Regions from separate parts of the Homo sapiens genome. Here region 2 is linked to region 1. The links are contacts of gene promoters, found by promoter capture Hi-C in blood cells and fetal thymus (Javierre and others, 2016). All regions are on one chromosome and are shown on one strand. Each heading gives the region's core, a stretch centred on a gene start or on the middle of the fragment in contact. The rest is flanking DNA. Distances are from core to core; before and after follow the strand shown.

Region 1 (4,553 bases), core at 1-2,500:
AGCCTGGGAGGAGCAAGGCTCCGTCTCAAAAAAAAAAAAAAAGAAAAGAAAAAAAAGAAAAAGAAAAACAGGGCGGGCGCGGTGGCTCATGCCTGTAATCCTAACACTTTGGGAGGCCAAGGCAGGTGGATTACCTGAGGTCAGGAGTTCAAGACCAGCCTGGCCAATACGGTGAAACCCCGCCTCTACTAAAAATACAAAAAATTAGCCAGGTGCAGTGTGGCATGTGCCTGTAATCCCAGCTACTCGGGAGGCTGAGGCAGGAGAATCACTTGAATCCGGGAGGCGGAGGTTGCGGTGAGCCGAGGTTACGCCACACCACTCCAGCCTGGGTGACAGGGCGAGATTACGTCTCAAAAACAAAAACAAAACAAAACAAAAAAAACAGTTGTTCAATAAATGAATGTGAATATAGGAGAAAGACGGCTTGAGGTAGCAAAGGAACACTCCCTTGCAAATGATTCAGGCTTGGTCAACAATACACCTATTGAGTACCCACCGTGTCCTTGGCCCGTGGTGAGGGCCGAAACACAGCACATGGTAAACAAAACAGGGCTCCAGCCTTGGACAGAAGGTTTCTATAATCACTTCTAGCTGCGTTGTTCTATTTCCATACCCATATCTATTCACTTTTTATGGTACATCTATTGATTCTGAAAATTACATTTTAGCTAAGGAATCTACTCATTTGCTTAAGCCCAAAATAGGAAGTTATGATCTAGTGTCAGCAAAACGCCGGATTCACAAGTGTCCCCATGGCGCTGTTTACCCCCAAATAACTAAACCCCGCCAAATGTTGAGATTCCGGACGTGAGGGGTGCTTGGATGGGGAACCCCCGAAAGAATGGACATCACGTCCACCAGAGGGTGCTGTGGGGGCAAATTTGTGCCAGGAGGGGAGCTCGACCGGTGACCCTCAGAGCCAGGTAGGCGTAAGGAGTAAATCTCCTTCTTCCCGGTGTTTCCTTCCCACCCCCTCGAACCATTGCTGCCCCTCCCCCATACTTGGTTCCCCCTGAATAATTTGCCACTTTCGGGGACTTAAGAAGTGTTTGCTTTTGAAAGACATCTGGTTTCTGTGGCTAACGCCCAGTGGTCAGGCCGCCCAGGTCACAGGCCGGCCGGGGGCGGGCGGTGGGTGGGGACTGCTGGGGCGTCAGCGGCCCAGGCGCCGCAGGGACCGCGAAAGGGTTAACCCGGCGGGGGGAGGGGGAGGGGGCGCGGGCCGCGCCTGCGCTCTGCCGCCCTCCATTGTCTCCACGGCGGCGAGGAGCGCCGGCGAGCGCAGCCCGGGACCGAGCGGGGCGGCGCGGCTGGCGGGGCCGGCGGCGGCTGAAGCGAGAGCGCGACGCGACGCGACCGCGGCTTCCCGAGCTGCGCCTGGCCGCCCAGCGCCGCGGCCCGCCCGAGGCCTGGAGGGGTCCGGGCCGCCGTCCATGGTCGCGGCGTCCTGAGGCGGGGGACGCGCCCGGCGCCCCCGGCCCTCCTCCGCCTCCTCCCGCGGGGCGGGCGGCCTCCTCCGGCGCCTCCCCGCGCCCGCCCGCCGCTCGCCGCCGCCTCCCTCCCTCCTTCCCTGCGGCTCCCCCGGCTTTCGGAGCCCGGGGGCGGCCTGTGGCGCGCGGAGCCCGCGCCGGACTGCGCCTCTTTGGACCTTGAGGGGAAACATGCGTTTGCCTTGGATCGTTTGAAATTCTGAGTTTGGGATCCCCGCCCGCCCGCCTGCCTCTTCCGCCCCGCGGGTTTTTTCCTTTTTTCCTTTTGCTTTTTTTCCTTTTCTCCCTCCGGGTCTCCTTTTTGACTCCCTCCCCCTTTATGCTCGCCCAGCCCTCCCCCTGCTGCTGAGAAGTGGGGGAGGGTCTCGGCCTCCAGGTTCCCGCCCCACCGGGGCCCGGGCGAGCATGGGGGGCAAGCAGAGCACGGCGGCCCGCTCCCGGGGCCCCTTCCCGGGGGTCTCCACCGATGACAGCGCCGTGCCGCCGCCGGGAGGGGCGCCCCATTTCGGGCACTACCGGACGGGCGGCGGGGCCATGGGGCTGCGCAGCCGCTCGGTCAGCTCGGTGGCAGGCATGGGCATGGACCCCAGCACGGCCGGGGGGGTGCCCTTTGGCCTCTACACCCCCGCCTCCCGGGGCACCGGCGACTCCGAGAGGGCGCCCGGCGGCGGAGGGTCTGCGTCCGACTCCACCTATGCCCATGGCAATGGTTACCAGGAGACGGGCGGCGGTCACCATAGAGACGGGATGCTGTACCTGGGCTCCCGAGCCTCGCTGGCGGATGCTCTACCTCTGCACATCGCACCCAGGTGGTTCAGCTCGCATAGTGGTGAGTCCGCGGGTGGTGGAGGCCTCGGAGGGAGGGCGCGCCGGGGCGCCCCAAGCCTTCGCGTGCGTGCCAAGGTTTGGGAATGTAGTGCACGACCGGGATCTGTCTGCATTCCCTTTGGTTCCCGATGCCAAGGGATAAATGGGATACCTACCGTCTGGAAACTAGGCTTTCTGCGAGGCTGCGGAGCCTGGCGATTTAGGGACTCACGGCGTGTGTTCACTTGTGGAAGGGCAGAGCGAAGCCTACCTATTGGAGTTCCATTTATTGGCATCACCCTCCTCAGAGAAGAGGTCGTGTCTGGCTGAGAGCAAGTCAGCCTGGGTACTTCCATTCTGCCACTGCAGCACTGTGCCTGCCTCACCGGTAACGGAGAGATGGAGCCAGTTGGAGCAAGCAGTGTCTCCTAAACAGAGTGTGTGAAAATGAAATAAAATCAGGGGCAAGTGATGCCTGGATTAGGGCTCTCACTCTTGCTGGGAGAGAGAGGTGCCCAGTTTTGCCACCCTGCTGGAGATCTGTTTGAAATGTTTAAAATGGAGCAGCCGGCAGGCGGCTGGCATAGACAGGTGTGGCTGCTGTACGGAGGGCCCAGCCGGCGAGTCTCGCGGGGGCTTTGCAGGACCCGGGCTGTGGTCACCCGTACTGCATGCAGCAGGCTTGGCTCCGCGACTCTCGCCTCCCTCCATCTTTTTTTCTTCTGCTCCATGCTAAGTGCTTGGTCTTCCCGTGAATCTGCATCTTTTTGTAACAGGGAGCCTGTCACGGTGGGGCATTATTGCCTGGCTGTTGGCACATGACTGGGGAAAAGGAGGATTCAGAGAATCTGGATGAATTCATTTTATGAACTTCTGGTGACAGGCCAGCAAAAGGTTGGAGGGGGATTTCCCAGGCTCCTAGCGGGAGGGCAAAAAAGGCCTGGCAGGAGGAAAACAGGTCTGTCTGCTAGGTCAGGCATCTAGAAAATTGGCCAAAAGGGATGTGGGGGCCGCTATTTGCTAATTGGCAAGTTGAGTGATGAAGTTACATCTTAAGATTCTTTTGGGTGAGTTGGGAAAATTTAGATAGTGTAGGGGAAAGATTGCTCCTGCCTTTAGGGTACTTTATGGAGGGTAATATCTGTTGGATCACTCTTTTAACTACTGTGAAATAGGGTTGACTTTTGGGGTATCTCTTTCCCCCCCCCTGCAAATAGCCTGGGGTTTGTTTTCATTTGGTTTGGTTTTTTGTCAATTCTGTAAACTTTAATTTGTGAAATAGTGTTGGGGGAGAAACGATTAGTGACTAATTTAGGGTAACACTTAGAAGTAGCTTGTGAATTGTTAGGATGATATTTTAATCTCTGACAGACCTCCGGATATCATTGGAGCTTTTCTGACCTCATGGAACTCTGCCCTGAGTGAGAAGCAGGACATGATTGCCTTTGGCTCTTTCAGGCATTTGATCAAAATTAGGCATTTTGAAATTAATAATTTTTCCTATGGAATTTAGTCCAGAGAGTTAGCCATATTTTTGAGATGACTAGTTTGGTGTTTAAAAGAACTGTAATGAGCATCTGGTTTTGAACTTAAAAGTACTGTAAGAAGTTTCTCTAAAATCACAGAATTTTTTGTGTTGAAAAACATATGAGATATGTAGGGAGGAAGAAAGGGAGTGCTTTTTTTGCTAAAATTTCTTAAGCCTCTTACTAAAAATTTATTTATTATGCTACTACCAGGTTCCATGCTACAGTTATGAGCTTGTAGTTGGATTCCAGAATTTCACTCTTAAGCTGTGAAACCTTATTTTTTTTCATCCGATCATGGTGAGGGTAGGGAGAGCCACTGAACTGTGGGGACAGGAAGGTTGGAGCATATTAATCCTTTAGGGAAGGGTGTCAAAAGTGTGTATGGGAGGCTGCTATTAATATTGTAGGTAATCCATTCCTTACTGTGTAGGACCATCATGTCCTTCTGCAAGACATCGAGCATACCTACTAAATGCTGATAGCATCCAGCAGTTCAGTGTGTCACCCCAAAATGTCCCCAAGAATTCCCAAATGCCCTCTGGGGTGTGGGTGGTATCACTCTGGTTGAGAACCACTGCTTTAGGGATTTATTCTTTTATTCACATAAAGTAATTGGCTTTTCCTGTGCATTTCATTTGAGATGAATCTTCGTGTGCAGCATTGGTTCCATCTCACCTGAAACAGACCATGGGATCTTCCAGGACATCTGTTTCCTCTGTTACAC
Region 2 (4,553 bases), core at 657-3,156, 170 kb after region 1:
TTTTTTTTCCTGTTTAATCTTATAGATATTTGCCTCTCACACTTGAACCCTGAAACTTTCCTAACATATCTTAAACTTTGTTGTGTCTTGTACATGTACCATTCTTTTCCAGTCCACCATTAATGGGCACCTAGGTTGATTCCATGTCTTTGCTATTATGCATAGTGCTGTGATGAACCTATGAGTGGGCATGTGTCTTTTTGGTAGAATCTTTTTTTGAGACAGGGTCTCATTCTGTCACCCAGGCTAGAATCCAGTGGTGACATCACGGTGCACTGTAGCGTCCACCTCCTGAGCTCAAGTAGTCTTCCCACCTCAGCCTGGAGTAGCTGGGATCACAGACACACACCACCATGTCCTGCTAATTATTTTTTACTTTTGTAGAGACAAGTTCTCTGTAGAACTCCTGACCCCAGGCCAGGCGCCATGGCTCATGCTTATAATCCTAGCATTTTGGGAGGCTGAGGCGGGCAGATCACCTGAGGTCAGTTCAATACCAGCACCAACAACATGGTGAAAACCCCTCTCTACTAAAAATACAAAATAAGCCGGGCATGGTGGCATGTGCCTGTAATCCCAGCTACTCGGGAGACGGAGGTTGCAGTGAGCTGAGATCACACCATTATACTCCAGCCTGGGCAACAGAGACCGACCCCATCTCAAAAAAACAAAAATAAGACCTCCTGACTTCAAGTGATCCTCCTGCCTTGGCCTCCCAAAGTGCTGGGATTACAGGCATGAGCCAGTGTGCCTGGCCAGATGATTTTTAATGGGATTGCTATGTGAAAGGGTAGTTCTGAATTATTTGAGAAATCTTCAGACTGTTCTCCACAGTGGCTGAACTAATTTAAATTCCCACCAACAGTGTATCTTAGCCTTGCCAGTATCTGTTGTTTGACTTAATGAACCTGGGTAACTTTATCCTTAAGATGCTGAACACATTGAAAGAAGTAGGCTGGGCATGGTGGCTCATGCCTGGAATATTGAGAGTATCCCTTGAGCCCAGGAGGTCAAGGCTGCAGTGAGCTATGATTGTGCCACTGCACTCCAGCCTGGGCAAATGAGGGAGACCCTATCTCTAAATAGGAATGGAAGAAAAGTAGGATATGATAGTGAAAACATGTTCACTCTCCCAGCAACTTCAGTAGAAAAAAAAAAGCAATAAAACCAGCAGCAGTTAGTGATCCTGTGGTAAGGGTTGTGTATCTCTTAGCGAATGAGTTTCTGGATTTTACCATTTGCAAGATTCTCACTTAAGAGATTTGGAGCTCTGCTATCTGGTTGTCACTGCAAACCTATGAGAAGTGCTGTTCTCTGGAAATCATTTTGGTAAAGATGAACAGTAGAAAAAAAGGAGAAAAAGCTTAGAACTATGCAGACTGGTGCTGGTTCTACCATAGTAGTCCGAGTTTAGCAAATAATACTATTAGTCGAGATCTGCTTAGGTGTTTCCCCTTAATTCCCTCATCTGCTTACTTTCTCGGTCTCTGTGCTAACTGCAGTGTCCTTAAGAACACTGTGAATCTCCCTCCCTGGCATTGCCAGCCTTCTCATATTGTGTTCTGTTTTCTGTCTCCTTTCACCCTCTCTGCCCACTTTAAGGTCATTTTGTGATCTGGCAATGCTACTTGTATTGATTTTGGTTTTGTTTTGTTTTTTTAACCACAAGCTATTACCTTTCTCTTTCAAAGTTTGAAAGGAAACATTTGCACTGGGAATTTTTTAATATTGGGAGACTGGGTCCCAAACTAAAGAGTCAGCCCTGTGATAGAACACGTGTGAAGACTTCCCATTCGGTAACATTATAGCGGAGGCATTGACAAGGTTCTTTTCATTGTGCTCTCTATTCCTAGAAGTGTGGAAGGCTGATGACCAGATGGAGAGAGACCACAGAAACCCAGACGAGCAGGCGAGGCAATTTTTAATTCTTAAGAACCAAACCCCAATTGAGGAAAGAGGCGATCTCTTTGGAAAAGCACTTAATCTGAACACAGACTTTGTTTCTTTAAGACAAGTACCTTATAAATATGACTTATATGAAAAAACTTTGAAATATAATTCAGACTTGCTTAATAGTAATAGAAGCTATGCAGGAAAGCAGACTGATGAGTGTAATGAATTTGGAAAAGCACTTCTCTACCTGAAGCAAGAGAAAACCCACAGTGGAGTAGAATATTCTGAATACAATAAAAGTGGAAAAGCCCTCAGCCATAAAGCAGCCATTTTTAAACATCAGAAAATAAAAAACTTGGTTCAACCTTTCATTTGTACTTACTGTGACAAGGCTTTCTCCTTTAAGTCACTCCTCATTAGTCATAAGAGAATACATACTGGAGAAAAGCCATATGAATGCAATGTATGTAAGAAAACCTTCTCCCATAAGGCCAACCTCATCAAACATCAGAGAATTCACACTGGGGAGAAACCTTTCGAGTGTCCGGAATGTGGAAAAGCTTTCACCCACCAGTCAAACCTCATTGTACACCAGAGAGCACATATGGAGAAGAAGCCCTATGAGTGCAGTGAATGTGGAAAGACATTTGCCCAAAAGTTTGAACTCACCACACACCAGAGAATTCATACAGGAGAGCGACCCTATGAGTGTAACGAATGTGCAAAAACCTTCTTTAAGAAGTCAAACCTTATCATACATCAGAAGATTCACACGGGGGAGAAACGCTATGAGTGCAGTGAATGTGGAAAATCCTTTATCCAGAACTCACAGCTCATCATACACATGAGAACTCATACAGGAGAGAAACCCTATGAATGTACTGAGTGCGGCAAAACTTTCAGCCAGAGGTCAACTCTTAGATTACACTTGCGAATCCACACAGGAGAGAAACCATATGAGTGTTCCGAATGTGGGAAGGCCTTTAGCAGGAAGTCCCGACTCAGTGTCCATCAGAGAGTTCACATCGGGGAGAAACCCTGAAACTCCAGCCAGGTCTTACTGTGGAAAACTCCTGCCAGAACTCTTCAAGCGGGTGAAAAACCTCATGACAGTATTGAGGGAACATGGGAATTCATACTGAGATGCAATCTCTCAACTCAAAAATGTATTAAAAATAGGATCCCATGAGAACATTATACTGGAAGTTACATGTGATACCCAGCTAAAGAATACATATCAGAATATATCCAGTTGTAAATAGCCATACCCAGTTGTACTACAATGAGCTTTTTAAAATCTTGAATGAATTGAGTATTCTAGACAGCAGCATAAGAAATATACAAACAGTATCCTATGAATTTAGTGGTTTTATGTGGATATGCCACAAAACACAAGTGGTATGCTTTAGATCTGCACATGTGAATTTAGCATAATCACTGGGAATTTGAAATTCTTGTCCTCTGTGATAATTAGGACATAACAAGATTTTCCATACTAAACATCACATGTGTTTTTCAGTATCTCTGCAATCCAGTATGCATTCCAAATGAAATGTGTAACATTTAAAGTAGCATGGAACCTACGTCTTTCCCTACTGCTTGCTGGCATATATCAGTTGGTATGAACATTGTTCTTGAGCTGCCTCTTAGGAAACAGAAGACAGTGTTGAAGTTTTCCCTGCTTCTGGTTTGCTGAAGATTTTCTAGAAGCACTATTTACACAAATATGCAAATGTGAAATAACCGATCTATAACGTGAAGGAGGCAGACATGAGCTGTACTACTCAGTATGCACCACAGAATAAGAGTTTGCCGTGTAAAGACAATATCCCCATTCGTCATGCTCTTATTTTCCCGTGGGATATTTGCATACAAATGCATGTCTGTTACCAAAATATTGTGTAACACAGACAGAAACCACCTGTTTTTGTCTTTCCTTGTTTCCCTTAATATTTCATGAATTGTCTAGCAAAAATGGTAGGATGCTTCTGTAGTTCACAAATGTTACATTTCAGAGACTTTAGAGGAAAAATTATTTTAAATAACTGTCAACTGTTTCATTGCTTTTTAAATTTTTCACGTGCATAACCCCCTTTAGAAGTAAATTTTTACACTATTTTGTTGTTTAAAGGAGGCATTTCTACTTCCTTGAGTTTTGCTGTTGCCAACCTAAAACATTTCCCTTTGGAACATGAGTTATAAGTTATTACTTTTCCTTTACATGTTTACACTTTTATAAAAATCAGATTTTTCAGTGGTCTCTCCAGATATTAACAAGAATTGTTGTGTAACTCAAAGATTTGCTTTTATAGACTTGATTTCAAATTCTTAAGTTCAGCCTTTCCCTATCAATCACAAATCATGTATTGGAAATTATAAATGGCAACCAAAAACTGGCTTTTAAAAAATATTTTTGGATATCATTGATGTGCTGTCACACTATATATTGAGTGACTTTCTGAACAAATTTATCCAGAACATCCATAGCCCAATAAGCTTTTGTCTAAGTTGTCATCTTACTTACTCACAAAGGAGGGGAAAACGTTATTTTCATAGCTGCTTTTAGAAATGTAAATTGTAACAGCCTCCTTGGACAACATTGTGAGTCTGTTTTAACATTAATATACTCTTACAACCTAGGAATCTCCTGGGAATCTATC

What was found. Contacts are between HindIII fragments. The CHiCAGO score rates a contact against its expected background, and 5 or more counts as called.
Region 2: a fragment that was not itself captured here is called in contact with the fragment with the promoter of ZNRF1 in region 1 in 3 of 17 cell types (fetal thymus, M1 macrophages and M0 macrophages); the score reaches 8.9 in fetal thymus.

What each region holds. Positions count from the first base shown.
Region 1 is chr16:74,997,774-75,002,326 of GRCh38, forward strand. It overlaps ZNRF1 (zinc and ring finger 1), which reads left to right and starts at 1,251. Exons shown (of 5, transcript NM_032268.5): 1 at 1,251-2,322. The coding sequence starts at 1,899. RefSeq lists silencers at 1,043-1,562, 1,963-2,272 and an enhancer at 3,063-3,122. The HindIII fragment of the contact is 6,289 bases long and covers 1-4,553 here.
Region 2 is chr16:75,167,400-75,171,952 of GRCh38, forward strand. It overlaps ZFP1 (ZFP1 zinc finger protein), which reads left to right. Exons shown (of 4, transcript NM_153688.4): 4 at 1,854-4,553. The coding sequence ends at 2,935. Among named protein-coding and RNA genes, the nearest start is that of ZFP1, 21 kb to the left of the region's middle. The HindIII fragment of the contact is 1,090 bases long and covers 1,362-2,451 here.